4 separate regions of the Homo sapiens genome follow, and regions 2, 3 and 4 are each linked to region 1. The links are contacts of gene promoters, found by promoter capture Hi-C in blood cells and fetal thymus (Javierre and others, 2016). All regions are on one chromosome and are shown on one strand. The core of a region is centred on a gene start or on the middle of the fragment in contact, and the rest is flanking DNA. Distances in the headings are between cores, read along the strand shown. Region 1 holds the start of LINC00853 (long intergenic non-protein coding RNA 853). Region 2 overlaps LINC01389 (long intergenic non-protein coding RNA 1389). Region 3 overlaps CMPK1 (cytidine/uridine monophosphate kinase 1). Region 4 overlaps CMPK1 (cytidine/uridine monophosphate kinase 1).

Evidence for each region. Contacts are between HindIII fragments. The CHiCAGO score rates a contact against its expected background, and 5 or more counts as called.
Region 2: a contact is called between a fragment that was not itself captured here and the fragment with the promoter of LINC00853 in region 1, in 1 of 17 cell types (megakaryocytes). The highest score is 6.5, in megakaryocytes.
Region 3: a contact is called between a fragment that was not itself captured here and the fragment with the promoter of LINC00853 in region 1, in 1 of 17 cell types (megakaryocytes). The highest score is 5.3, in megakaryocytes.
Region 4: a fragment that was not itself captured here is called in contact with the fragment with the promoter of LINC00853 in region 1 in 2 of 17 cell types (megakaryocytes and erythroblasts); the score reaches 9.3 in megakaryocytes.

What each region holds. Positions count from the first base shown.
Region 1 is chr1:47,174,686-47,181,936 of GRCh38, reverse strand. LINC00853 (long intergenic non-protein coding RNA 853) reads right to left here and starts at 2,687. Exons shown (of 2, transcript NR_047498.1): 1 at 2,499-2,687; 2 at 1,598-2,069. It overlaps CYP4A22-AS1 (CYP4A22 antisense RNA 1), which reads left to right and starts at 2,314. Exons shown (of 6, transcript NR_199717.1): 1 at 2,314-2,747; 2 at 3,488-3,812; 3 at 4,868-5,009. RefSeq lists a cis regulatory region at 609-626 and enhancers at 545-689, 2,315-2,816. The HindIII fragment of the contact is 3,617 bases long and covers 1,941-5,557 here.
Region 2 is chr1:47,398,751-47,406,001 of GRCh38, reverse strand. All of the region lies in intron 3 of LINC01389 (long intergenic non-protein coding RNA 1389), which reads left to right. Among named protein-coding and RNA genes, the nearest start is that of FOXE3, 14 kb to the left of the region's middle. The HindIII fragment of the contact is 8,041 bases long and covers 345-7,251 here.
Region 3 is chr1:47,366,822-47,374,072 of GRCh38, reverse strand. CMPK1 (cytidine/uridine monophosphate kinase 1) reads right to left here. Exons shown (of 6, transcript NM_016308.3): 2 at 5,458-5,604; 3 at 966-1,118. Among named protein-coding and RNA genes, the nearest start is that of CMPK1, 37 kb to the right of the region's middle. The HindIII fragment of the contact is 3,965 bases long and covers 2,357-6,321 here.
Region 4 is chr1:47,345,603-47,352,853 of GRCh38, reverse strand. All of the region lies in intron 1 of CMPK1 (cytidine/uridine monophosphate kinase 1), which reads right to left. Among named protein-coding and RNA genes, the nearest start is that of CMPK1, 15 kb to the right of the region's middle. The HindIII fragment of the contact is 850 bases long and covers 3,196-4,045 here.

The DNA of each region.
Region 1 (7,251 bases), core at 1,438-3,937:
CTGGTGGGAAGCTTCTGACTGCCGGATCCGATTCTCCTTGCACGAGGCCACATTTCCTCCCAGCTCTGCCCTCAGTTGTCCCTGGGGGGTGGGAGTGGGTTCGAGTCAGGTCACTCCACCAGCCTGCCAGGGCCAGAAGGCAGAGCCACCATCCCTGTCTCCCTGCAGCAAGTGAATCCCAGCCCCTCACACCTGTGAGGTTTTGCCAGGAGAAGCCTGCTTCTGCCTGGGCTCACCTTGCTCCCCAGCAGCTGTCTGAGGCCTCTCCAAGAGCCTCCTTGGCCCCCTTCTCATTCTGTCTTGCTCAATATGGGCAGATCTAGGAGAGTGGGAACCCTAGGGGCTCCTGCAGGGGCTGGGCCGGCACTGACCTTACAGCCCTTCACCCTCACCCCATGTTCCTGCCCTGATCCAGAGGGGAGTGCTGGGAGCAGGGAGCTGCTGGCCCCAGAACTGCTGAGACCCCCAATCCTTATCGCTCATTCCCACCTGCCAGCCTGGCCAGATCGGGGAGGGAAAGGAGGCTGGGCCCGGGCCAGGGTGGCGCTTAATGACCCTCCGGGGGCCTAATCTCAGACTGGCAGCCACGGAGTGGCTCAGGCGCGCTCCTGGAGAAGGCTGATAACGCACCAGCTGGGCCCCCACCATCTATCGCTGCACAGCCAGTCCCAGGGGCAGCCTCCCAGGGCCTGGGGAGGGGGAGCCTCTGGACTAGGGCGGGGCTGGAGGCGAGCTCTCCACCCCCAGCCCTGAGGGAGGGGATCCTGAGCTTCGTGATTGGCAGACAAGGGAGAGACCCAGCCTGCAGGAGGGGTGGGCTGGGCCTGGTGGGAACCTCCAGACACCTGTGCTCCTTCTCTCTTTCCTGCTCTCTTCCCAACCTTTTCTCCCCACGTAGGACCTCTCCTGCCCAGGCCTGTCTCCTCTTTGTCTCTCCCAGCCTCCATCCATCTCTGTCTCCCTGTTTCTCAGTCTCTCCACCTCTGTTTTTGTCTCATCCTCTGCCTCTCTCTCTCCTGTTTGCCTTTCTCCTCCTCCACCTGAGCTCAGTGCCCACCTCCTCTTTCTCTCTTGCATCCCTTTTCAGTTTCCAGCTGGTTCTCTTGGTTGTCCCCTTCCCAGCTGTCCCCTGCCTCCTAAGCTTCCTTGATGTCAACCCTTGGCCGGGCAGTTCCCACGATCTCATTGGTCTCACTTCTGTGTGTGGTATCATCTCTCTGTGGTCCCTTCCACCAGCTATCTGCCAGGATTGCAGGCTGCCTCAAGCCCTGGCTCTCAGCCCAGAATGTCCTCTTACTGTTGAGGACATTTTTGCTCTTCCTGGAACAGGGCTTGCACCTTGTTTTCCCCTCTCCCACCTAAAACATGTAAGTTTCATAGGGTTACATTATAGGTTATACCCAAACTCAGGCAGAAAAGAAAAGCCTCCACCCAGCAACTGCACAGTTGAGGGAAGACTGCAGCACTGCTTACTTCATTTAGACTTGAAGAGGAACTTCCAGCCAGGAGTTGGCTTTGAAAACAGGCTGTGGAGTTCCGTCTCCAGAGTGCCAGGTGGTCAAGGGGAGTTTCAAGATTACTGCCGTCATACTCAGAGTGACACATGCAGAAATACTATCTGTTTATTGTGCTTCAAGGATCCATTAGATCAGGACTATTGCTGGGCAAAGCCTCTTCCCGCAGCCTAGGGGTAGTAAAGGTGGGGGTAGAGGTGCTGGGGCTGGGGCCAGAATCACACACAGTCTGCTCTGGCCTCTACCCACCTTCACAGGGAAGTCAGGTGGCTGAAGCCAGCAGAACTTGCTCTGGGACCAGGGTGGAGGCACCTGCCTCCCATCCAGACCTGGCTGGAGGGTCTTGACTCCCTAGCTTGGCTCTCCTCCCAGGGTTTTTTTTTTTTTTTTTTTTTGTCCCTGGCAGTGCAGGGGTGGCCAAAAGCTTGAGCTTGGGAATCATGCCGATTGGTTCAAATTCCAGCCTGCTCCTCGATGCTTGTGGGATCGCCTAGCCTTTCAGATCTTCCATTCCTTTGCCGGTAAAATTGGCTCTATAGTACATTCCTTGCAGGGCTGCTGGGAGGAAACAGAGATGACATCCGTGTTATTATTGCTCCTGAGACTTGCCAGAAAGCCCTCCATGATCAGCGTAGATGCCATTTCTTCCCAGATGCTCCTTTCCCCACTCCTGGGTTCAGCACTTCCTCCGGGCAACTTCAGCCCCTGCTCCTCCCTCTCTTTGCACCCGCCCCACCTGCCCCACTCACTCCACCCACCCCAGGGTGCTGTCTACTTGTCTGCATCCTGCTCCTGCCCTGGGTCTGGGAGCTCCTCAAGGGCAGGAATGGAGTGACTTCCCTCTCTGTGCACCCAGGACAGGGCTGGACAGGAGAAGGGAAGCCCAAGGAGTGGTGAAGAGCCCCGAAGGAAGGGACTAAACTCCAGCCATCTGTCCCGCGGTGTCTGTTCATACTCCTCCTCCGTGCACGGGCTCAGACATACATATGCGCATATGCTCTGTCTCTTTCTGGTTGAAGGTCCTGGGAGCCCTCCGGAACTCTGCTGCCTGGCAGTCCTTCAGTTTCGGGAGCTTTTCTGTCTGCCCGTGGCCTCGGCTGCCACCTGGTGGCTGCACGCTCCAAAGGAAGCGTAGATTGATGAGAGCCTCGGAAGTTGAGCTTCAGGCGCGGCTCTTCCCCGTCACACTGGGACCGGACGCATTTCCATGGCGTGGTCCCAGGAACCTCTCAGGTCATGCCAGCAACTGGGACTTCCTGTGGAATGCAAGGGCAGTGGGGCCTCCGCGAGAGAGAGAGAGAGAGAGAGAGAGAGAAGAGAGAGATATTAAGGATGAATCCCAGTGTCTGCTCTGAGCAAATTGGAAGACGATGGCATCAGGGGCACTGCTCTGGGCTATATAGACTGTGCCTCCACTAAAGGGTCCCTGAGACCAGGTGTGGGCCCGTATCCCTGGAGGGAGAGGTAACTTCCTCTGATTCGAAGGCATCATATAGGCTAGTGAATGGCACTGAGAATGGCAGATGCCAGGGACAAGCAGGAGCATGTGTGGGATGAGGATGCGGCGTGGATGTGTGACGTTTCAGAGCCTGCAACACATCCGTAGGGAAGTCCTGGAGGAGCAGTTGGGTGCATGGTGGAGTTCTGAAACAGCTGGGCAGTCGGCACTTGAGCCAGAGATTCTGCTTTCGACCTGGATGCCCATTGAGAGGTTAAGAGCTCAGGTCTGGGTCAGGCAGCTTGGAAGCAGCACAGCTTGGACACTTGGTAGCCTGGGACTGTGGTTAAATCAACGTGACTCTCGGAGCTCCAGTTCACTGTAAATTAGGGCAGTAAATGATGTCTACATGATAAGTGGTGTTATGAATGTTAAACATTCACATGAAATACATAGAATAGTGCTTAGCATACAGTACACAATAACTGTTAGCTATTTGGAAAATTACTATTGTTATTATGATTATTTATTACAGAGTGAACTGAATTGGATGCAAGATCACGGTGCGTCAGAGCTAGCAAGATCCTTAGGATCATTTAGCCTGGTTTACTAATATTACACTATGGAATTTAAGCCCAAGGAATGGAGAGTACCCGACGAGCGTTATGTAAGGAGTCGAGTGAGAAGTAAGCTGGATGCTCTGCTTGGCTGGCAGGTACAGAATGTGCCAGACCCATCTGTACCAGCCTGGATCTCTTGAGGCATCAGCACAATGGACCTGGCCACACCAGTTTATTCCACACCGCTGAGGCTGGTACAGTTCTGGACATGGACTTTGTAAATAAATAACTGGGCCTTTGGTCAGTTCTAGCTGTGAGCTTGGAGGTATGGGGTGGGATGGTGAGGACAGGTGGGGGCAAAGTGAGGAAAGGGGCAGGGAGGAGAGGGGAGAGAGAAAAAGGGGAATGAGACAGGCTGAGCTAGTGAGCTGGAATTGGAGGTTGGGAACAGGCTTTCCTTGATGGTGGTGGTGCTGTTTTCTTTTTAATTTTAATTTAATTTTATTTTAAGTTCCAGGCTACATGTGCAGGATGTACAGGTTTGTTACATAGGTAAAAACATGGTGGTTTGCTGCAACTGTCAACCCATCACCTAGATATTAAGCCCAGCATGCATTAGCTATTTATCCTGATGCTCTCCCCACCCCTGCCCCAACAGGCCCCACTGTATGTTGTTCCCCTCTTTTTTGTTCACTTAAAAGATCCCACTTTTAAGTGAGAGTATGCAGTGTTTGGTTTTCTGTTCCTGTGTTACTTTGCTGAGGATAATGGCCTCCAGCTCCATCCATGTCCCTGCAAAGTACATGATCTCATTCCTTTTTATGTCTGCATAGTATTCCATGGTATATATGTACCATATTTTCCTTATCTAGTCTATCATTTATGGGCATTTGGGTTGATTCCATGTCTTTGCTACTGTGAATAGTGCTGCAATGAACATATGCTTGCATGTATCATTATTTTTTTATTTTTTTTGAGATGGAGTCTTACTCCCTCACCCAGGCTGGAGTGCAATGGTGCAATCTCTGCTCACTGCAACCTCCTCCTCCCGGGTTCAAGCAATTCTCGTGCCTCAGCCTCCCGAGTAGCTGGGACTACAGGTGCCTGCCACCACACCCGGCTAATTTTTTTGTTTTTTTGTATTTTTAGTAGAGACGGGGTTTTACCATGTTGTTCAGGCTGGTCTCGAACTCCTATCCTCAGATGATCCACCCTCCTGAGCTTCCCAAAGTGCTGGGATTACAGGCATGAGCAACCACACCCAGCCACATGTATCTTTATAATATAATGATTTATTCCTTTGGGTACACACCCAGCAATGGGATTGCTAGGTCAAATGCTATTTCTGGTTCTAGGTCTTTGAGGAATCACCACACTGTCTTCCACAATGGTTGTACTAATTTACATTTGCTGGTGCTGTTTTCTACATTGAATCTGAGGGCTACTGTATGATGTGTAAGACACTTTCTGATTGGAGCCTCACAATGATCCTACCAGGTGATTACAACTGAGCCCAAGTTTTAGAGGAAAAAAATGCAGACTCAGAGAGAGAAAAGTGATTTGCCCAAGGTCACATAGCCAGCTAGTGGCATTGAACCCTGGCCTTTTGACTTTAAATCTATTGCAAATTCTACCCCAGCATAGGGTTCTCTTTGGGGTGTGTGTGTGTGTGTGTGTGTGTGTGTGTGTGTGTGTGTGTGTGAAATGGGGAGATAAAGAAGCCAACAGTGTTTGCCTTTGCAGAGCATGCAGTCCATTTGGAAACATGCATGTGGGAAAGTGGGGAGGGACCCTGTCAAGCATCTAAGAGGAGTGGTGGCATTTGCTGTGTCCACCTCCATCCTTCCCACTCACTACTCAGCACCTATAGCCTTGTCGCTCTCCCCAACACTCTGCTGAGACTGTTGTCACCAAAAACACTATTGTCCGGCTCCCTGTTGAAAGGTAAGATGGTCTATCTGATTCTTCCGCTCTCAGTATAATAGGATGATCACCATTTTATCTGGGAAGCTGTTCCTGACCACCTGCCCTCAGCTCATCAAGCTTCTGTGAGCCTGCAGGCTCACCCTGGTCATGCCGCCCATCTCTCTGAACAAGATTGTGAACTCTGAACTTTGTGAGGCAAAGACCACATACACCTCTTTATTGCAATGTGCAAGTGTCCTGGAATATAGGAGGTCTCCGAGAGCTATGTGTTGACATGGAGACCTTATCCCTTGCACTCAGTTACACTGCTTCCAGTAAAGTATCAACTTCTAGATCAGCGCCTTCAGCTCCACTCCCTCCTGCACAGCTCCACAGGTACCTCAGGTCCAAAATGGAATTCTTGATCTTTCACCAACCTGAGTCCTCTGTTCCTGTAAGTGGCATCCATTCACCCAGACCAGAGATAGGGGAGTCACCCAGAATCCCCCTCTCCCTCAGTCCCTGAGTTTCACTTTCCAACATATCTCCCTCCAGGTTCTTTCCAACACATCTCCCTCCAGGTTCAAGCCTCGATCTTGCCTGATGTTTGCAGCTGCCTGCTCCCTTGTTTTTATTTTTACCCCCAAGTTTTCCTCTACACTGCAGCTAGGGAGACCTTTCCTGCTGGAATACAGCCATTCACATCTGCGAGAGGAATCTAAACTCAAGGCAGGTGTAGCCTAGTGGCTATGTGCATGAGCTTGAAGCCAAATTTCCCTGAGCAAATCCCATCCTGCCAATTTTATATTAGTGGGATGTACCCCAACGAGGGTATATCAGGGACTGAATATGCAAATTAGGGATAAAATGAGGCCCATCTTATGAGGTTGTGGTGAAGAGTAAATGGATGTAAAGAAAGCATGCAGTATGCTCAGTGAATGACAGCCATCGTGATTTTCCTTTCCTTGCCTGCAATATCTCGAGCAGCCACTAGATGACTCCACCTCCTTCTCCCTTTCCAGTGCTGCCAACACTACTGCTGGAACTTCTGCCTCCCCTCCCCTCCCTCACCACACATCTCCATGCCCGTGTTGTTCATGTTTTTCCTTCTGCTAGCCTCACCGTCTTCGGGGCGTCTCCCTGACATCTTTTACTACATCTCACCCTCAGCTCTTGGAGGACGGGATGTCCCCACGAAAACTGGCATAGTGCCTGCATTGAACAAGTACTCAGTGTTTGCTGAATGAATGAATGTGGGTTAGTCAATACTAGCTCAGCTGCTTACATCACTTAGCCTCCCCGGGTCTCAGGATCTCCTTTTATCTGTGGTGACCATCCAATGTAAAGCCCTAGCATAAGACCTAGCATGCTTTAGACCCATGGTTGCCGTGCACAGCCAGCTGCCTGTCAATCATTGCCCATTCCCATTGCCCACTAGCCATTGTCCACTCTATGTTCACCCCTGTTACCTCACCCAGCTGAGGGTCTTAAACATAGTTTTACCTCTTCTCAAAGGTCATTCTTTACTTGGTAGGGTAGGGTCTAGAAAGAGTCTGCAATTTGGTTAGAGTCTAGATTTAGTTTGCAACCCAGCTGGGCTGGGTGAGCCCAGGCTTGGCTGATGGTTCAGCTGAGCCCAGATGGCTCCCATCTGCCTGGAAAGCATAGGCTCAGCCTCCCCCTTCCCTGAACCCCTACCAAGCATCCTGGCTGGCTGTGCTCCTGGTCCTCTTTTACTCTAGTCCAGTTCCTGTCCTGGCTTGGGCTGGGGGTAAGGGCACTTGTTTCTGGCCACTCCTCATGGATCTCTAGTCTCTGCCTCTGTCTTTGCCTG
Region 2 (7,251 bases), core at 3,116-5,615, 220 kb before region 1:
ATTTTCTCTAGGGTGCATTGTGAGCCTCCTTTGCTCAAAATGTAATGAGTATGTCTCCTATCAGGGGAGGAGGGATGTTTGCACTCCTCCCTGGCCTGCCTGGGCTGCTCTCCTGCCTTCTGGTTGGCCTTAGGCTCACCCGCCTTCCTGTTTTTAGAAGCGTCAGACAGCCCTAGACCAGCCGCTAGATGTCACAGCCAGTTTGGCTTCCCTGATAGGACCTGGGACCAGTGGGGCACCCTGATGGAGAAAGAATCATTTGCTCCAGTGTTCCTCTGTGGTCAAGAGCCACTTCTTTTCATCTATCTGCACTCAAAGACTCCACCCAGGGGATTTTCCAAGCTTAAAAAATGGAGAAGTATTTTGTTGTTGTTGTTCCCTGGAAGTTTCATGGGGGAAAAATACAAATAAGTTCAAGAAGAGTAGAGATGAACCTGCAGCTTCCTCTCTTGTGTCCCTTCCCCTCCCACCCAGGCTGTTGCTTTCTGTCATTCTCCTTTGGGCCCTTACAAAGGTAGGTTCTTCCGCTTGTAATACCTTTCCTTTTCTCTCTGTGCTCACCCCTGTCTGAAAAACTCAGCCATCTTCTCCAGGAAGCCTTCCAAGCAGGGATAAGTCCTCTGATTTCCCCACAGTGCCTGTGCTTCTCTCTGTCACAGCCATCATCACCCACGGTACTGAATCCTTTCTTACCTTTCTCCCCAACCTAACTATATGAGTCTTGAGAACTGGAGAAGTGATTGTTTCTCTAGCAAGATTGCCAGTGTCCAGCATAGGGCCAGGGACAGAATAACATGCACAGTAAATGCCAAGTAACTGATTGACTAATTGACTGAATGAATAAATGAACAAATACGGTAATAAAGTGTCAGAGATGAAAGAGGACAGGATGGGACCCCATCATCTTACAGCTAAGGAAACCGAGGCTTAGAGAAAGGGAGAAGGTATCATCAGGAAGGAATTGACAGAATACCAACTCAAACTAACTTAAGAAAAATGTTGGCCGGGCACAGTGGCTCACACCTGTAATCCCAGCACTTTGGGAGGCGAAGGTGGGCGGATCACCTGAGGTCAGGAGTTCAAGACTAGCCTGACCAACATGGAGAAACCCCATCTGTACTAAAAATACAAAATTAGCCGAGCGTGGCGGCATGCACCTGTAATCCCAGCTACTCAGGAGGCTGAGGCAGGAGAATCGCTTGAACCCAGGAGGCGGAGGTTGCGGTGAGCCAAGATCGTGCCGTTGCACTCCAGCCTGGGTGACAGAGCAAAACTCCGTCTCAAAAAAAAAAAAAAAAGAAAAAAAGAAAAGAAAAAGAAAGAAAAGAAAAATGTAGTGAGGAAATGTATTGGCTCATAAATCAGGGCAAGGATGAAACTGGACTTCAAAATGTGTGAAACCCAGTGTTTGAAAGTCCTCTTCATGTCATCTTCACTCTCAGAGGCCACTTTCTTTACAAGGTTGGGGTCTGGCTGTTGGCAGTAACAAGCCCCTCTCCTTAGAGTTCTGCAAATGAAGATACAAGAGCTGCGGTTGAAACAAGGCCCCAGAGAAGGATTCTGAGTGGCCCAATGTGGACCCATGCTCACCCCTTGACAAAACACTGTGGAGTATGGCAGCTCCCAACTAGAGGAGGAGCAATTCTCCCAAACACGTGGGAATCATAGCTATGACCCTTGGGGAAACCACTGTGAGCGGGACAGCCACCCAATTTAAATCTACTAGGGTCACCAGCATTTCTTGAATAACTCTGTACTCAACCCATGTTAGATATTTTCATACCCATTGTCTTACAATAACTCTGTGAGTTAGATATCATTACTCCCATTTTACAGATGAGAAAACTGAAGTTCAGAGGCGGTAAGTAATTGGGCCAAAGTCCTGGAGAGTTATGGAACCCAACAGGACACTTAGTCCCATCCTCCTCTGTGTACAGATGAAGAAACTGCAGCCCCAAGATGGTAGAGACTTGCCTGAAGTCGCAGAGTAGGTCAGTAGGATAGTCTAGGAATTAGAAGTCGTATGAGCATTTTGTCACACTATATTATACGTGTGTAATGGGCATCTTTGGGATATCTGCTCTGCTCCTATTTCCCTTCTTTCAGAACAGCCCACTCACCAATCCACATGACTATGAGAAATGACCCCCAGAGGTGTAGCCTAGCAGCCATGTTTGTTTTATGTGACCCCATGCCACTACCCAAAGCTGATTGGGCCAGGGTTGGACATGTGGTTCCGTTACACCAGTCGCCTCCTCTCTTGGGAATTTGGAGATTGTTTTTACATGGCTGGACCTGTCAGGTGCTGTCAGCAGTCATGTTTTCCTCCATGTGATCTGATTGGTGGAGAAGGTCAGTCCGGGAAGAGAAAAGAGCACAGAGGCAGGGAGAAACTCCCATTTCCTGGGCTCCTGAGAGCTTTCCCAAGTCTGGGCCAAGTCCTTTTATGTGTTTGGTTCCTTTAGACTTCCAGTTCCCTTGTAATCACTTCCCCTTTCTTTGTCTGAATTGATTCTAGTGGATTTCTTATGAAAATAGCATCCTAAGATAGCATGTAGCAAAGTACCTTTACTAGAAAGGGTGCTGTTGTGTGAAACCATATCGGTACTTCAGCCATCTGAGATGATCAGATGAGGAGGCCAGTGTGGGCCAGAGTGGTTGGGAAGGCTTCTCTGTAGCAAGCAGGACCGCTGTGTCCTTGAGGTGATGCAAGGGAGGCTGACTTGAAGGAGCTGAATGTGCGGCCAGGCAGGGAGGTGAAGCAGTAAACAAGAAAGAGTTCTTCTGGTCAAAGCCATCCAAGGTGTCAAGTGTGTATAGGGAGGGACTGGGAGGCATTAACTCATGGAGGGGTGTCCCAGGGGTGGTTACAAACCAAATCATTACAGTGAAAGCAGTTATGTCCCCACCATATGCTCTAGCCTGACCCTGACATCAGAGGCTTTGCCATTTCCTGAACTTGTACCACACTATCCCACCTTTGTGCCTTTCTTCATGCAGTTCTATCTGCCTAGGAGCCCTTCCATCCTACCTCAGCCCAGATCAAAGTCTGCCTAATCCCTAAAGCCTTGCCCTAGCCCAAAGGGAAAATAAGCTCTCTTCTTTCAGGTTCCCACTATCGCGTAGTTTATATTATAATTACCTGTGCACGTACCTGTTTCCCCCACTAGAATGTGAGCCCTGAGGCCAGAACTCTGATCTGATTCATCTGCTTCTCTATTGCCTAAAGCTAGGGCTGGCCCCTGCATAGGTGAAAATTTGCTCAATGCCTGAGTGTGTCCACTGTCCATGCTAACCATGGGAAAAAGTAATATACTTGCTGCCTCCTTATCAACCTCCTACCCCACCTATCAATAAGTAAAGAGAGAAAGATTTGAGGAGCCGGGAGTCCATCCTCCCATGGTGGGGGGTGGAGTTGGGAGCTGTGTGTGGCTCTGCATGTGTGTTACATGTGTGTATGTGTATGTATGGGTATGTGCAGGAGCTCTCTCTAGGTTGTAGTCAAGGAGGGCTTCCCCCAGAGGGAGGCCATGGGCAGAACCACAGGGCCTAGCTGTGTCTGCCACCCCCTGCTCCAACTCTTCATTCTAGTGGCATGGTCTTATATGCCAACAGGCATCAGGCCTGGAGGCTGATGGGAGATTTAGTTAATTGCAACAAAGCCAAGCGTCCTGGGGCACAGTAGAGATCAGTCTAATCTGTCAAATTATGCCCCTTAAAGATCCTGTTAACCTTTGTTAACCTGCAGTTGTACATTTAGGATGATTAGATGCTTCCCTTTCTCATACAGCTCTTCATGCTTACACAGGGCCAGGAGAGAGAACGGAGTGGCCAGGTAAAAGGAGGCTGGATGTTAAAAGGTTTGACGAAGAAGAAGGGAGCAGAAAATGAGCTGGCACTTATTGAATATCTGCAGGTTCCAGCTCTGACAAACATTTCACTTGTACCTCCCAACCAGCCTAGGAGCTAGTTATCGCTTCTTTATCTTAGAGATAAGGAAGCAAGTACTCCAGCGCCAAGGTGGCTTGCTCCAGAGCACATATCTTGAACATGGCACAGTGGGCACTTGACCCCGTTTGCAGATGGTTGCCCTCTGCCTGGAGTCCCATCACCTTTAAAGGGCCTAGAAGTCACAATCTGAGCTTCTCCAGCATCTTTTCCTCCCAGAGCTTTGTGGCTCCAAACCCTCATCACCCTAAACTCCAATCCTCTCACAAGCAGCTCTTCAGAGTAACTCACAACAGTGTTCCTGGCTACAGTCAGACCACTGTCATTACACCTGCTACTTCCCTACCTAGCATTTATCAACATGCATCATTCAGTTGCTCAGTCCTGTGGGTGACTGTCTGATGTCTGCTTCTACTGTCAGACCACAAGTTCCTTGAGGGCGTGGGCTTTATATTTTTCATTGCTCTATCCTCATTAGTTCATTCACTGAACAAACATTTATTGCCCACTATGTGACAGACATTGTACTAGGTGTTTGGGATACAACAGAGAGAGAGACGACAGAAAATCCCTGCCCTCTGGAGTTTGACCCCTAGAAGAGAGAAATAGACATTAAGCAAGATAAATAAGCAAATTTTGCAGTGTATTGTTTTGGATGGTCATAAGCAATATGGACAGAAATAAAGTAGGAGAGTATACTAGAGAAGGAGGGGGTCCAATTTTATGTAGGAAAGTCAGAAAGGGCTTTGGAAGAGGTTAGAGAGGGAGCCATGTAGATACACACAAAAAGCATTCCAGGCAGTGGGAATACAGTGGGATAGTACTAAGGTGTGGAGGCGGGAGAGGATCTGGTGTTTTCCAGGAACAGCAAGGAGACCCGTGTGGCTTGAGCAGAGTGAGCGAAGGGCAGGACATGAGAGTCCTGCGGAGCACTGTAAGGGTTATGCCTTTACTCTGATTTGGGAAGGCACTGGAGAGTGACAGAGGAGTAACATGATCTGGTTTAGGTTTTCAAAGGATCATTCTGCCTACTGTGTTAAGAATTGATAGTCAAGCTGGGTACAGTGGCTCACGCCTGTAATCCCAGCACTTTGGGAGGCTGATGCTGGAGAAGTGCTTGAGCTTAGGAACAGCCTGGGCAACATAGTGAAACCCCATCTCTACAAAGAATTTAAAAATTAGCTGGGCATGAGAGACTGAGGCAGGAGGATCGCTTGAGCCTAGGGGTTCAAGGCTGCAGTGAACTATGATCATGCCACTGCACTCAGCCTCGGTGACAGAGTGAGACCCCATCTCTTTTAAAAAATGGAAAAAAATATAATTGATAGTCTCTGATGCACATTAGGTATTTAATAGTTTTGAATAAATGAATGAATTGCACGTAGGAGAGTGACAGGAAAGAAAGAAAGAAATTGCTATGGAGGGAAGATAAACCCAGAGGACACTTATAACCTTGATGCCCAGTGATCTGAGTCTAGTTTTAAGGAGCTGAAAGAGGACAGATTTCTGCTGAGCAGAGCGTGAATCTTCTAGCTGTCCTTGTATCTCAGTAAATGTCCCAGGAGATCTAAACTCCTCGTCATGGAAGATGTACAAGTCAGGACAGGATGGCCTCAGGAAAACCTATAAGCTATGGCTTTCTACAGCTAGGAATAGCCTGTGTCCCCCAACCTCCCCTCCAGTCTTTTACCTCAGATTTTGTAAGTGATAGGACTCAGAGATGTTTCTGTCTCCTGCTAAAGGACCTCCACCTGACCTTCAGAGTTGTGAGTCTTCTTGGTACATGACAGAGGAGACCCAGGAAGCAGGCCTGCAAGGACACCTTGGCTGTGGAGCATTAGGAACAATATTTGGCTGGGACCGGGAGGCTATCCAGGGTAGCGGGCACTCTGTGGCCAGAGTTCTGGATTACAGGGAGCCAAGGCCAAGGCAGACCAGAAATTCCCTGCCTTGATTTTTGCCTCTAATTCCTCCCAGAAATGAGGCGTGTCCGTCTTCAAACTCTCGGGTTTTTATGAGGCGATTATGGTGATTACTGTAAATCTCCTGTGTGTTGTTTTCAAAGGGGTAATTAAGTGGAGGAATCAGCCACCATTTTCATTTCTCATTAAGTGATTAGGGTTTGTTTGGCAAATCCTAGCATCTGTGGCTAGAGGCAGGCTCTGCTGAGCTTGACTTGGACCATTCACTGCCTACACACAAGCTAAGCATCCAGCACCTCCCTTCTGCCCTGGCTTCTCCTAACCTGAATGAATTAGAAGGAATCCTTTCATTGTGCAGATGAGGAAACTGAGGCACAGAATGCGAAACTGACTCAGCAATATTATACCACACTAGAGCCAGGTTCTGCCTCCCAGAGCAGAACTCTAGTCAGCACACCATGCTGTCTATCTAAAGAAGGAGCTTTCAATAGACTTGTTGCCACTGAGGCAGCTTTGCTTCTGGAAGTAGGGAAGGCTCCTTCTTGAGCCTTGGATCATTTTCTCACCTAACTCTTTTTTCTCCTAGAGCCACCACATCAACAAGTATGGCAGACACTGTTGGTTGTCCACCCAACAATCATTTCCCTCTTCCTTTTCCTTTGCCCATTTCTCTTGGTTAGGAGAGGGTACAACCCAATTCTGGCCAATGAGATATGCAGAGATAATACTGGGGGACTTCTGGGTTAAGATTTTCCTCCCTCTTAAAGTCACTCAAGGAGAAAGCCTTTGCTCTGTACTCACTTCTGCTTTTAGATATGGTTGTTTGAAGTGATGCTTGGAGGCCAGGTGCAGTGGCTTATGCTTGTAATCCCAGCACTTTGGGAGGCCGAGGTGGGTGCATCACCTGAGGTCAGGCGTTCAAGACCAGCCTGATCAACATGGTGAAACCCCATCTCTACTAAAAATACAAAATTAGCCGGGTGTGGTGGCAGGTGCCTATAGTCCCAGCTACTCGGGAAGCTGAGATAGGAGAATCACTTGAACCTGGGAGGCGGAGGTTGCAGTGAGCTGAGATTGTGCCACTGCACTCCAGCCTGGGCAACAGAGTGAGACTCTGTCTCAAAAAAAAAAAAAAAAAAGAAAGAAAGAAAAAAAAAGAAATGATGCTTGGAGCTGAAGCAGCCATCTTGTAACTTGAGGCAACAGGCTAGAAGAAGAAAGCCAATTGTTTTAATTATCTATTACTGCTTTACAAATCACCCCCAAAATTTGGTACCTTAAAACAATTTATTATTATCTTTCACTGTTCTGTGGGTTGACTGGGCTCAACTGGACGGGTCCTACATGAGGGCTGTCATGTTCTTGCAGCCTGACCAAGACT
Region 3 (7,251 bases), core at 3,090-5,589, 190 kb before region 1:
AAATAAAATAAAACAACACAAAGGCTGCAGCAAGATTCTCCACCAGGGGCACATTTACAATTCAACCTAAGAACAGCCAACTTCTTTCAAGGTACTAACTACTTCAGGCTTTTTAATTAAATGATTCTGAGAAATGTATTTAGTTATTCAAAAGTATGTCTGGCTTCATTATTAGAACTACCAGAAAGAAAAGTACATTTTTTTACTTTTTTCAAGATCATTTCACTCTTAAGACAAATCAGGCTATCCTGTATGTTTCTTTTTTTTTTTCTTTTTTTTGAGACAGTCTTGCTCTGTCGCCCAGGCTGGAGTGCAGTGGTGCCATCTTGGCTCACTGCAACCTCTGCCTCCCAGGTTCAAGCAATTCTCCTGCCTCAGCCTCCCAAGTAGCTGGGATTACAGGCATATGCCACCATGCCAGGCTAATTTTTGTATTTTTAGTAGAGAAGGGGTTTCACCATGTTGGCCAGGCCGGTCTTGAACTCCTGACATAAGGTGATCGCCCACCTTGGCTTCCCAAACTGCTAGGATTACAAGCGTGAGCCACCGCACCCAGCCCTGTATGTTTCTTTAAAACAGAAAGTTTTCCCAACTTCTCAGAAACGTGTTTCTCTTCCAGTAAACAACACCCTAAGGCAAAATACTCTTTGATAATAATGTCTACCTAAGAAAGTAGTTCAGCTTCATTACCTAATATTATTATGTATGTCAATTCTTATTTTTTAAAAATCAAAACTGATTCTTGTTATTTTGAAAATAAAGGAAAATTTAGCTCCACAAGGCTGCTAATGCCAAATAGTTTTTAATACTCCAACAGCAAGACAGTGCTGTTCCGTCCATCCAATCTACCAATTCAAAAAACACTGCTGCCAATATAAAATATAAGTTAAAAAATCCTTTGTTTTTTCTAATAGTTGACTAACAGTTGCTTAAAGCCTATGTGGGCAGATGAAGATTTTCATTACCTCATTATTACAGTCAAAAAAGAGAACGAAAGATACATCTGCCTTCCCATCCATGGTCTTGTTCCATCCTTGAAGGTTGTCTTGATTTCTTGGAAACCCATCAATCAAGAATTTATTCTTCTGAGCATTGGCAGCCATTGTCTGATCCATTTCCTAAAGGAAAAAGAAGATTTAGGTTCAATACAACATTAACAAAATGAAATTTCTCAAGCATGGTAGTGTATACATGGGTGTTTTATTATTATTATTTAAACCATAAGTAAAGGGTGGAGGGTACATAGCAAAAAAAAAAAAGAAAAGAAAAAAAGAAAGAAAGAAAAAAGACTAGAAGGAAATCTATCAATGTATTAAGATGGTTGCCTCAAGTTGGTGTGGTTATGGGTATATGCCCCTCTCAAAACCACCTCATTTTATACACACAATTTTTTTCTGTGGTTTCCAAATTTTCTACAGTTAAGTATATGTTACTTTCACATACACATTCACAAAGTTATAAATAAACAATAAGAGCGGCAATAAGAGGAAAATAACCATTAACCATTATCTTTGCTCCAGCAACTGGAGACCCTCTCTTTATTCCCTTTGCTCTTCCCAAGTCGTTTTGCTATAGTGGAAAGTATATTACTTCTACAGGTGCTCAACTCTGCTATTCATATAATTCAAGTCCAACAACACAAAGCTTTGGACAAATATAAAAGACCATTAGCATTAATTATTAATGTAGGATAAAATACTTTTTAACGGAAGCTAATTAAACCCAAATGTCACTGGCTGCCCCAAAACAAAGGCAACAAAAGAACCAGCCCGGCCAAGATGGTGAAACCCCGTCTCTACTAAAAATACAAAAATTAGCTGGGCGTGGTGGCTGGCACCTGTAATCCCAGCTACTGGGGAGGCTGAGGCAGAGAAATGCTTGAACCCAGGAGGTGGAGGTTTCAGTAAGCCGAGATCGTGCCACAGCACTCCAGCCTGGCGGACAGAGTGAGAGACTCTGTCTCAAAAAAAAAAAAAAATAGGAAAAAAGAGGATGTGAACTAAGGTGATGACAGAGAAGAGACTAACAGAAGAGGATTAAAAGAAAAATAACTGGAAAGATATGCTCACTGAATGGATTTGGGAAAGTGAGGAAGAGGCAGGAGAATATAGGATGATTCCCAGATTTATGCCTTGAGTAGCTAGGTAGATGGCAGAACCATTAACCAAGACAGGAAGTAAAGGAAGATCACATTTTAGACAATACACTCAGCCTCTGACATGTTGATTTTGAGACACTTGTGAGACATTCAAATAAAGGCCTAGTAGTTAGGTAGTTAAAAATATATGTCTGGAATTCAAAACAAACATTTTGTTTTAGAGCTATAGACTTTAGCAGCATGAGCATAGTGAAAGCTTTGGGTATGGCTAAAACCATCCAGAAAGAAACATATGAAATGAGAGCTGAATAAGACCAAGTATAAAACCCTGAGAAGCATCATGGTTTTGGAAACTTGCAAAAGAATAACTATTAAAGAGGATAGAGAAATAGCAGTCACTCAGTAGGGAGAGAAGAAAAAGAGACGCTGTCATAAAGAACAAAGGAGGAATGATTTTCAAACAGACTGATTAAAGTTAAATACTACAAGAAAAATAATGACAAAAGTATTATTTGATAGAGATCATCATTGGTAACATGCAAGAGCAGCTGCAATGGAGATGGAAACAGAATCTGACTGCAAAGGGTTGAAAAGTAGAGAGTGGAAAAGTAGAGAGTGAAAAAGTAAAAACCATATGCTCTTTCATAATACTTTCTCTGCTTTATAGAGCAGAGAAAGGACATTAGAAAGAGTGAATAGGGAGAGAGATTTGTTTATTTTGGAATGGAAGCAGGTTACTCCAACCTCTGAGACAAGAGGTAAGAATGTGTGTACAAGCCACTTTTCATCCCCAATGTCTTTAGTTCCAACCAGATGCTTACATAGCTCTTTTCCATCAGGCTTCAGCCATTTCTTGTTGTTCCCAATATTGCATTTCTTTTTCTCCCTCACTGTTCTTCTATGTGAAAATACCTGTTAATGATTATAGTTCTAGGAATCTAGAATGAAGAGTTACCTAGTAAATACAGGGTGTCTGTTTTTCAGATGTGACATTTATTTATTTATTTATTTATTTTTTGAGGCGGAATCTCACCCTGTTGCCCAGGCTGGAGTACAATGGTGCGATCCTGGCTCACTGCAACCTCCGCCTCTGCCTCCTTGGTTCAAGCAATTCTCCTGCCTCAGCCTCCCGAGCAGCTGGGATTACAGGTGCCTGCCACCACGGCCGACTAATTTTTTTTTTTTTTTTTTTGTATTTTTAGTAGAGATGGGGTTTCACCATGTTGGCCATGTTGGTCTTGAACTCCTGACCTCGTAATTCACCCACCTTGGCCTCTTAAAGTTCTGGGATTACAGGCGTGAGCCACCACACCCGGACATTTTTTTTTTTTTAAGAAACAGAGTTTCACTCTGTCACCCAACCTGGAGTGCAGTAGCATGATCTTGGCTCACCAAAACCTCTGCCTCCCAGGTTCATGCGATTCTTCTGCCTCAGCCTCCCAAGTAACTGGGATTACAGGTGTGTGCCACCACACTTGGCTAATTTTTTATATTTTTTGGTAGAGACGGGGTTTCACCATGTTGGCCAGACTGGTCTCGAACTCCTGACCTCAAGTGATCCCCCTGCCTCGGCCTCCCAAAGTGCTGGGATTACAGGCGTGAGCCACTGCGCCCAGCCTCAGATGTGACATATTTTAGTTTTAAAAGTTCTTAAGTCTTAGCATTTCACATTGAAGATGGTGATACACCAGAAAAGTAGACACCATGGCTGAGCGAACATCAATGATGAGAGGGACGTGGGTTAAAAAACAGAGAAAGGGCTGGGCATGGTGTCTCACGCCTGTAATCCCAGCACTTTGGGAGGCCCAAGCGGGTGGATCGTGAGGTCAGGAGATGGAGACCATCCTGGCTAACACGGTGAAACCCCGTCTCTACTAAAAAATACACAAAAAATTATCCAGGCTTGATGGCGGGCGCCTGTACTCCCAGCTACTCGGAAGGCTGAGACAGGAGAATGGCGTGAACCCAGGAGGCGGAGCTTGCAGTGAGCCGAGTTCACGCCACTGCACTCCAGCCTGGGCGACAGAGCGAAACTCCGTCTCCCCGCCAAAAAAAAAAAAAAAAAGAGAGAGAAAGAAGAAAGAAAGAGGTTTATTTAAAAAAAAAAAAATTGGGGGCCGGGCACGGTGGCTCACACCTCTAATCCCAGCACTTTGGGAGGCTGAGGCAGGCAGATCATGAGGTCAAGAGATCGAGACCATCATGGCCAACATGGTGAAACCCTATCTCTATTAAAAATACAAAAATTAGCTGGGCATGGTGGTGCACGCCTGTAGTCCCAGCTACTCGGGAGGCTGAGACAGGAGAATCTCTTGAACCCGGGAGGCAGAGGTTGCAGTGAGCCGAGATCGCGCCACTACACTCCAGCCTGGCGACAGAGCGAGACTCTATCTCAAAAAAAAAAGAAAGCAAGCAAAAAAGAAAAAAGGAAAGGGAGCAGGAGAGGGAGGAAAAAAGATGAAACAGAAATGGAAGAGAATAACTGTCTGAATGTTGGGAAGAAAGGACCAAGTGCACATAAATGGATGTTAAGTTGAGCTATAGGTGATCCTAAATCAAAGCAGAGAATCCTTGCCACTGTCCGCTTTCTTCCCAGGTGAAAGCAAAGTTTCCAGTTCTGCCATTCTCAAGCATAACCACCTTCCACAAGCAAGAAATTCAATACTCTGAGCTAGGTGTGGTGGCTCTCTCCTGTAATCCCAGCACTTTGGGAGGCCGAGGTGAGAGGATCACTTGAGCCCAGGAGTTCCAGCCTAGCCTACACAACATAGTGAGACCCTGTCTCCACAAAAAATAGAAAAAAATTAGCTAGGTGTGGTGGCATGCACCTGTAGTCCCAGCTATTCAGGAGGCTGAGGTGGGAAGATGGCTTAAGCCTGGAAGGTTGAGGCTGCAGCAAGCTGTGATCAGGACACTGCACACCAGCGTGGGTGACAAAGACACTGTCTCAAAACAAAACAAAACAAAAAATCTTTGATATTTTTCATTACACATATGAAAGGTGGATTTATTTTTATTATTATTGTTGTTTATTTATTTATTTTTGAGAGGAGGTCTCACTATGTTTCCCAGGCTGGACTTGAACTTCTGGGGTCAAGCAATCCTTCTGCCTCTGTCTCACAAGCAGCTGGGACTACAGGCATATGCCACCACGCATGGCTTTTTAAAAAATTTTTTTGTAGAGATGGGGTTTCACTAGGTTGTCCAGGCTGGTCTTGAATTCCTGGCCTCAAGTGATCCTCTTGCTTTGGCTTCCCAAAATGCTGGGATCACAAGCATGAGCAACTGCCTGGCCAAAAGGTGAATTTAATTTCTTCTTTCCTCGCTGGTTTGAACTGGTTGGCATTCACACTCCTTACCCTCTTTAATAAACTGATGGTTATCTCAACTGGTACAATCTTTCCTTCTTTAATGTACTTTTCAATAAGTTCACCATACTGTGAATCTGGGTTCTTCCTTTCATCACGAAGCAGCTCTCCTGCAGAAAGGTGTGTGTAGCCATATTTCTGAAAGAAGCACACATAGGAAAAATATCAGAATTCATTCAACCCAGTGGTAGGACTATACTTTTTTTCCTTTGTGTTAATTTCTATATTCTAATTTTTCTACAATAAAGAAGTTTTGCTTGTATATTAAATAATAAAGAAAAATTTAAGATATTTCCCATAATCCAGTTTGCTTAATGGATATCTTTATTCTTCATAGCTATAATGTTCAGATAAATATATCCTGGCTGGGCGTAGTGGCTCACACCTGTAATCCCAACAATTTGGGAGGCTGAGGTGGGTGGATCATGAGGTCAGGAGTTTGAGACCAGCCTGAACATGGTGAAACCCCATCTCTCTAAAAACACAAAAATTAGCCAGGCATGGTGGTGCATGCCTGTAATCCCAGCTACTCAGGAGGCTGAGGCAGGAGAATCGCTTGAACCCGGGAGGCGGAGGTTGCAGTGAGCTGAGATCGTGCCACCGCACTCCAGCCTGGGCGACAGCGAGACTCCATCTCAAATAAAAATAAAAAATAAAAAATAAATTTAAAAATTAGCTGGGTATGGTGATTCATGCCTGTAGTCCTAGCTACTTGTAAGGCTGATGCAAAAGGACTGTTTGAGTCTGGGAGTTTAAGGTTGCAGTGAACCGTGATTGCACCACTGCCCTCCAGCCTGGGTGACAGAGCAAGACATTGTCTCAAAAAGTGAAAAAAGAAAAACAAAAAGAAAAGCTTCTTCTTCCACATAAACTTGCAAGTTCCTTTTTATTAAAAGAATCATACAATTGATTTTAAAAATGCTTTTACTCTCAAATATTAAAGACACCAAGATAACTATATTTATCGCTCAGTTACAACAACCATATCATCCCAAATTCTTAAGACTCCCTCAATGGAGTTTTCATTTTATCCAAGTATACAATAAATATGTGATAAATTAAATGTTATCTTTAGCTTCGATGTTAAGATTTGAGGCAGCCCACACTCCCAACCCCCTTTTTAAAGAGTATTTCAACGGCACATTTTACAAAAGCAACTCTTTCAATTACCCAGGTTATGGTGAGTTTTCTGTTTTCGGATTACAGAAGCCATATATATTCTTTACTCCTTTTCTCATTCCCGAAATTGCTGGTTAAATTTGTTCTTGCTTACTAAATAATAAGTTAACGGTAAGGTAGTCAGCAAATGAAAAGAAAACTCTAAATAGTTTATTTGCTGACTATAATTGAGTATAAAGTTTGATGAGAATAAACAAGATCCTAATATCATCCATGTCTCTCTGTCATATAGGACCTTCCATTAGAAGAAATGGTCAGGCTGGGCAAGGTAGATCATGCTTGTAATCCTAGCACTTTGGGAGGCTGATGCAGAAGGATGGCTTGAGCCCAGGAGTTCAAGACCAGCCTAAGCAACACAGACCTCATCTCTATTAAACTTTTTTTTTAAAAGAAAGAAAAAAAGGCTGGGTGCGGTGGCTCACACCTATAATCCCAGCACTTTGGGAGGCCAAGGCGGGTGGATCACCTGAGGTCAGGAGTTTGAGACCAGCCTGGCCAACATGGCGAAACCCTGTCTCTACTAAAAATACAAAAAATTAGCCAGGTGTGGTTGCAGGTGCCTGTAATCCCAGCTACTCAGGAGGCTGAGGCAGGAGAATCACTTGA
Region 4 (7,251 bases), core at 2,371-4,870, 170 kb before region 1:
TCAAACCACAGCCCAGCATGGGATTTAATGATGACCATAAATAACTGTACCCATTTCTATAATGTACAGCAGACTACATGGGCCTCTTGGTTCTTGATTAGAGCCTAACTTCATCAAGGAAAATGACCTAAGAAGTGGTAATCTTATGGAAAATTTTTCCATATTTTTTTCCTGTCATGACTACACAATAGAAAAAGCACTGAAAACCATTTACAAAATAGGTGACTTTTTGCTTAATGGGCATCCCACTAATCTGATTTAATTAACTTGAACTCAATTATGCCCTTGAACTGGTCAAAGAAGTAATGAGAATCTGTGACCCCCTATCCCTCCCCACCTTCCTTTCCATTTACCACTACCCCGTCTCTTTCCCACTCCCAACTCGTGGCACTATATAGATACCAGTTACATCTTTATTTTTGTAGTTTTGGACTAGCTTATCAGCCTTTTTAATCTCTGCACCATAGGCAATAGAAAGCATACTGGATGTTCTATTGTACAAGATGTAAGATCTCCTCAAAATTTAAAACATTTTACTTTAAAGAAATACCACTACCAAGAAAATAAAAGACAGCCCACAGGATGGGAGAAAATGTTTATAAATCATACATCTGGATTAGGGGCTTATCTTTGAAATATATAAACTCTTACAGCTCGATAAGAAGATATATAACCCAATTAAAAGACATCTTTTTATTTTTATTTATTTACTTTTTTGAGATGAAATCTCACTCTGTTGCCCAGGCTGGAGTGCAGTGGCGCAATCTCAGCTCACTGCAACCTCCGCCTCCTGGGTTCAAGCAATTCTCCTGCCTCAGCCTCCCTAGTAGCTGGGATTACGGATGTGCAACACCATGCCCAGCTCATTTTTTGTATTTTTAGTAGAGACAGGGTTTCACTACGTTGGTCAGGCTGGTCATCAACTCCTGACCTCAAATGATCCACCTGCCTTAGCCTCCCAAAGTGCTGGGATTACAGGTGTAAGCCATTACACCCGGCCAAAGACAATTTTTTAAATGCACTATTCTGAGGAGAAAAAAAAACAAAAAACCCTTCACACCTACTAGAATGGCTATAATTTTAAAAACAACAACAAAAACAAAAAAAATAAACATTGGTGAAGATGTGGAGAAACTGGAACCTTTGTATACTGCTGGTGGATATGTAAAATGGTGCAGCTCCTGTGGAAAATAGTTTAGTGGTTCCTTAACAAGTTAAACACAAAATTACCATGTGACTCAGCAATTCCATTTCTATGTATATACCCCAAAGAACTGAAAACAGACTCAAACAGATACTTGAACACCAATCACTGCAGTATTATTCACAGTAACCAAAGGTGGAAACAACCTAAGTGTCCATCAACAGATGAATGACTAAGCACAATGTGCTGCATACATATAATGGAACATTATTGAGCCATAAAAAGGAAGTTCTGATACATGCTAACATGGAGGAAGCTTAAAAACATTATGGGCCAGGCGCAGTGGCTCACACCTGTAATCCCAGCACTTTGGGAGCTCGAGGCAGGTGGATCACAAGGTCAGGAGATCGAGACCACCCTGGCTAACACAGTGAAACCCCATCTCTAATAAAAATACAAAAATTTAGCCAGGCGTGGTGGCATGTGCTTGTAGTCCCAGCTACTTGGGAGGCTGAGGCAGAATCATTGAATCTGGGAGGCGGAGGTTGCAGTGAGCTGAGATCGTGCCACTGAACTCCACCCTGGGCAACAAAGCGAGACTCCGTCACAAACAAACAAACAAACAAACAAAAATTATGTTAAGTAAAATAAGCCAGACACAAAATGACAAGTATCATATAATTCTACTTATATGAGGTACCTAAAATAGGCAAACTCGTAGAGACAGTAGATTAGAACTTACCAGGAGCTAGGGAAGGGTGGGGGATCTGTATTTTCCAATTTTTCTTTTCTTTTTTTTTTTTTGAGACAGTCTCACTTTGTCGCCCAGGCTGGAGTGCAGTGGCGTGATCTCGGCTCAATGCAACCTCTGCCCTCCCGGGTTCAGGCAATTCTCCTGCCTCAGCCTCCTGAGTAGCTAGGATTACAGGTGCGTGCCACCACGCCTGGCTAATTTTTTCTTTTCTTTTTTTGCATTTTTAGTAGAGACGGTGTTTCACCATGTTGATCAGGCTGGTCTCGAACTCCTGACCTCGTGATTCGCCCACCTCAGCCTCCCAAAGTGCTGGGATTACGGGCATAAGCCACGGCACCTGGCCTGTATTTTCCAATTTTTCTATAATGTACGCACACTCTACTTTAAATAAGAGCAACCAAAATAGCTGGGCACAGTGGCTCATGCCTGTAATCTCAGCACTTTGAGAGGCTAAGACAGGCAGATCACTTGAGCCCAAGAGTTCAAGACCAGCCTAGGTAACATGGTGAAACCCCACCTCTACCAAAACAACACCCCCTCCCCAACCTCAACCCATAAATTGGCCCCAAGTAGCTGGGACTACAAGCTTGTGCCTGTAGGCTGAGGTGGGAGAATCACCTGAGCCCGAAAAGTAGAGGCTTCAATGAGCCATGATCATGTCACTGCACTCCAGCCTGGTGACAGCGCAAGGTCCTGTCTCAAGAAAAAAAAACAGTAGGTGGAGCATGGTGGCTCACACCTGTAATTCCAGCACTTTGGGAGGCTGAGGCAGGCAGACTGTTTGAACCCAGTAGTTCGAGACCATCCCGGGCAAGACAGTGAGACCCTGTTTCTATATAAATAATAATAAGGCTGAGCAAGATGGCTCATGCCTATAATCCCAGCACTTTGGGAGGCCGAGGTGGGCGGATCACTTGAGGTCAGGAGTTTTAGACCAGCCTGGCCAACATGGCGAAACTCCATCTATACTAAAAATACAAAAAATTAGCTGGGCGTGGTGGCGCGTGCCTGTAATCCCAGCTACTTAGGAAGCTGAGACAGGAGAATCACTTGAACCGGGAGGCGGAGATTGCAGTGAGCCGAGATTGCGCCACTGCACTCCAGCCTGGTCAACAGAGCGAGACCCTGTCTCAAAAAAAGAAAAATTAGAAAGTTGGGCAACAGAACAAGACCCTGTCTCCAAAACAAACAAACAAACAAACAAACAAGAACATTTAGAAAGTTGGCCCTAATAGCACATTTCTTAAAATTTTTTAATTAAAAATACACACAAGCAACTGTTACATTTCAAAAAGCTTTCCTTTTCTCAACTTTATAGGTGCAATGTTACCACTGTGAAGTTCTAGATGAACATGAAATAAAGGAATTTATTAAACATAATTCCTTGGTGCTCCAACTCGTACGCTACAGAATAGCAAAGAAGGCACACATATTCATAGTAACTGGATATTTTGCCTTTTGGGTGTGACTATATTGGGTTATATGCTATCTAACACAGAAGTTTTGAGGTACAGATCTGTTTTGGAGCTGGTAAGACCATCTACTCCTCTATACGCTTCGTTTTACAAAAGGGGAAATTGAGATAAGCTGACTTGCCAGTTACTGGAAAGAAATCTGGCACTTGAATCCAGGTCTCCTCACTCTCAATAACTCTATTATTCCACAACAGGCCTCTGAGGTAATTCCTAGGTGACCCATATGGAGATGCAGTCTTTCGTCTTCAAGCTACTATGGCCATTGAATAACAGAATCTACTGGTGGGAGTTAAAGAAGAAACTCAAAGTTGATCATTTTGTTATGTCCTGGCTTGCAGATGAGATCAGAAACTTTATCCACACACAGAAAGCTAGGCATATTTGACCCACCTTGATTCAGCCTGATTCTGACCATCCTTCTTGCTTCCTTTGCTTCCTCCTTGCCTTTCCCCACTTCTGAAACATTACCATTTCCACTTTTCACTTCCCTTGCCCTTCAAATGATACATAGCAAGGAAAAACTCTATTTGAAAACCTAAATTAACCATTAAGTCAACACCCAATTATACAATCAAAACATCTTTGCTGTCTCTATACTCCCAGTAGGCACCAAGAAAATGAAAATTCATGTTATTACCTAACTAAATCATACATAATTATACAGGTAAAGCTTGTGGGTTAAATTAAACATGTAACATTTTCCAATACCAATCAATGACTAACACATTCTGGAAGCTCCAAACACAAAGTGGGTATGGAAACAGACTTTTGTGTAGCCCCAAATTAGGCATATTCAATTGCTTGTTGACATAGGATACATTCCAACGGGGAATGGAACCAGCTTATGGGTCTTCTGGAGAAGACTGATGGAAACCAGGCATGGAAGAACATGTTTCATAGGACCCAGTCCCTCAAAGTGAAGGCCTCTGAGACTAGTAAGTAACAACTGGTGCTTTTTCCTTTACCAAAGTGATGGTTTGTTAACTTTACGCACCAGGCAGCATAAAACTGTCAGCAAACAGTATGTCTGTCACACCTGTTCCCTATTAAAGTTCTAAATGCTCTTATCACATGTTTAGTCTGTAAAAATGTTCTTAATTTGTCAGATTAAAGCAACTAAAATGTAAGAGCAAACACATTTTCATATGGCAATTGGGCTAAAAGTATTAGCTTTAAGGTAGTAAGAATCAGTGTGACTAGGCCAACATGAAACAAAAAAATAAGACATCAAAATATATGTGCTGTCTCTATACTCCCAGCAGAGTCCCCATCCTTTCTCTCTCTTACCTGGACAAAAAGTCCCACTACTAGATTGATTTCTCTAATCCTCTGGATTTCAATTCAGAAAGCTACCCGTTAAAATACTGTACTCCTACGTGACTTTTGGAGGTCTTCAGTGATTACAATCCTTTTGCATTAGCATCTAAACTGGAATGTGGTACAGCAAATTCACAATAGTGCCCTGGGTTTAATTTTTTAAAGGAAACACAGCAATAGTCAATGTGACACTAAGTGAACACAAGATAGTTAATTTTCAACTTAAGATCATGGACCGGGCACGATGGCTCACACCTGTAATCCCAGCACTGTGGGAGACTGAGACAGGCAGATCACTTGAAGTCAGATGCTCGAGACCACCCTGGCCAACATGGTGAAATGCCGTCTCTACTAATAATAAACAAAAATTAGCCAGGCATGGTAACGGCGCATGCCTGTAGTCCTAGCTACTCGGGAGGCTGAGGCAGGAGATTCGCTTGAACCTGGGAGACACAGGTTGCAGTGAGCTGAGATTGCACCACTGCACTCCAGCCTGGATGACAGAGTGACACTCTGTCTCAACAACAACAAAAACCAAAAACAACAACAACAAAAAGATCATGGCACATTCCTTTCAATTACATCATATCTTTGTGAGGCTGATTTTATGGGCTATTGCTGTGATAAAAACAAGTATCACATGAAAATTAATGTGGGACAGGCACAGCAGCTCATGCCCGTAATCTCGGCATTTGGGGAGGCCGAGGCAGGAGGATGGCTTGAGGCCAGGAGTTCAAGACCAGCCTGGGCAACATAATGAAACCTCTCTCTACAAGAATTTTAAACATTAGAGAGGTATGGTGTGATGTGCCTGTAGTCCCAGCTACTCATGAGGCTGAGGTGGGAGGATGGCCTGAGTCCAGGAGTTGGAGGCTGCAATGAGCTATGATTGTGCCACTGCACTCCAGCCTGGGCAACAAAGTGAATGAATGAGAGAATGAATGAATAGAAGGAAGGAAAAAAGGAAAGAAGGAAGGAAGGAAAGAAGAAAGGAAGGAAGAAAGGGAGGGAGGGAGGGAAGGAGGGAAGAAAGGAGGAACAGAAGGAGGAAGGGAAAGAAAGAAAATAAAAAAATAAAATAGGCCGGGCACAATGGCTCATGCCTATAATCCCAAGACTTTGGGAGGCCGAGGCGGGTGGATCATCTGAGGTTAGGAGTTCAAGACCAGCCTGGCCAACGCGGTGAAACCCGTCTCTACTAAAAATACAAAAATTAGCCGGGTATGGTGGCGGGCGCCTGTAATCCCAGTTATTTGGGAGGCTAAGGCAGGAGAATCACTTGGGGAAGGGAAGGGAAGGGGAGGAGAGGGGAGAGGAGTGAGGAGGAGAGATGGGGAGGGGGAGAGGAAGGCAAACAAACGGGCCGGGCACGGTGGCTCATGCCTGTAATCCCAGCATTTTGGGAGGCCAAGGCAGGCAATCACCTGAGGTCTGAGGTTCGAGACCAGCCTGGCCAACATGGTGAAACCCCGTCTCTACTAAAAATATAAAAAGTAGCCAGGCATGGTGGCGCACACCTGTAGTGCCAGTTACTTGGGAGGATGAGGCAGGACAATTGCTTGAACCCAGGAGGCCGAGGTTGCAGTGAGTTGAGATCGCACCATTGCACTCAAGCCTGGGCGCCAGAGTGAAACTCCGACTCAAAAAAGAAAAAAAAAAGAGAGAGAGAAAGAAAAGAGACAGGGAGATAAAATTAATAAGAAATGCAGGTGGAAGTGTCCAATATGATTCCAGCGTATGAGAAACAGTACACAACAGGCATATACATTTCATTAGTAAGTGTGGTTACTTAAGAATGAAATTAGGCTGGGCGCAGTAGCTCATGCCTGGGAGCCACTTTGGGAGGCCAGCACTTTGGGAGGCTGAGGCTGGCGGATCACGAGGTCATGAGTTCGAGACCAGCCTGGCCAACATGGTAAAACCCCGTCTCTACTAACAAAACAAAAATTAGCCGGGCGTGGTGGCGGGCACCTGTAGTCCCAGCTACTCAGGAGGCTGAGGCAGGAGAATCTCTTGAACCCGGGAGGCAGAGGTTGCAGTGAGCCAAGATGGAGCCACTGCACTCCAGCCTGGGTGACAGAGTGAGACTCTGTCTCAAAAACAAAACAAAACAAAAAAAAGGCCAGGCATTGTGGCTCACACCTCTAATCCCAGCACTTTAGTAGGCCAAGGTGGGTGGATCACCTGAGGTCAGGAGTCCAACCAACATGGTGAATCCCCATCTCTACCAAAAATACAAAATTAGCTGGGCATGGTGGCACATGCCTGTAATCCCAACTGCTTAGGAGGCTGAGGCAGGAGAATTGCTTGAACCTGGGAGGTGGAGGTTGCAGTGAGCCAAGATCAAGCCATTGCACTCCAGCCTGGACAACAAGAGGGAAACTCCATCTCAAAAGAAAAAAAAAAAGGCCAGGTGCAGTGGCTCATGCCTATAATCCCAGCACTTTGGGAGGCCGAGGTGGGGGGATCACGAGGTCAGGAGATTGACTAAAAATACAAAAAATTAGCCGGGCGTGGTGGTGGGCACCTGTAGTCCCAGCTACTTAGGAGGCTGAGGCAGG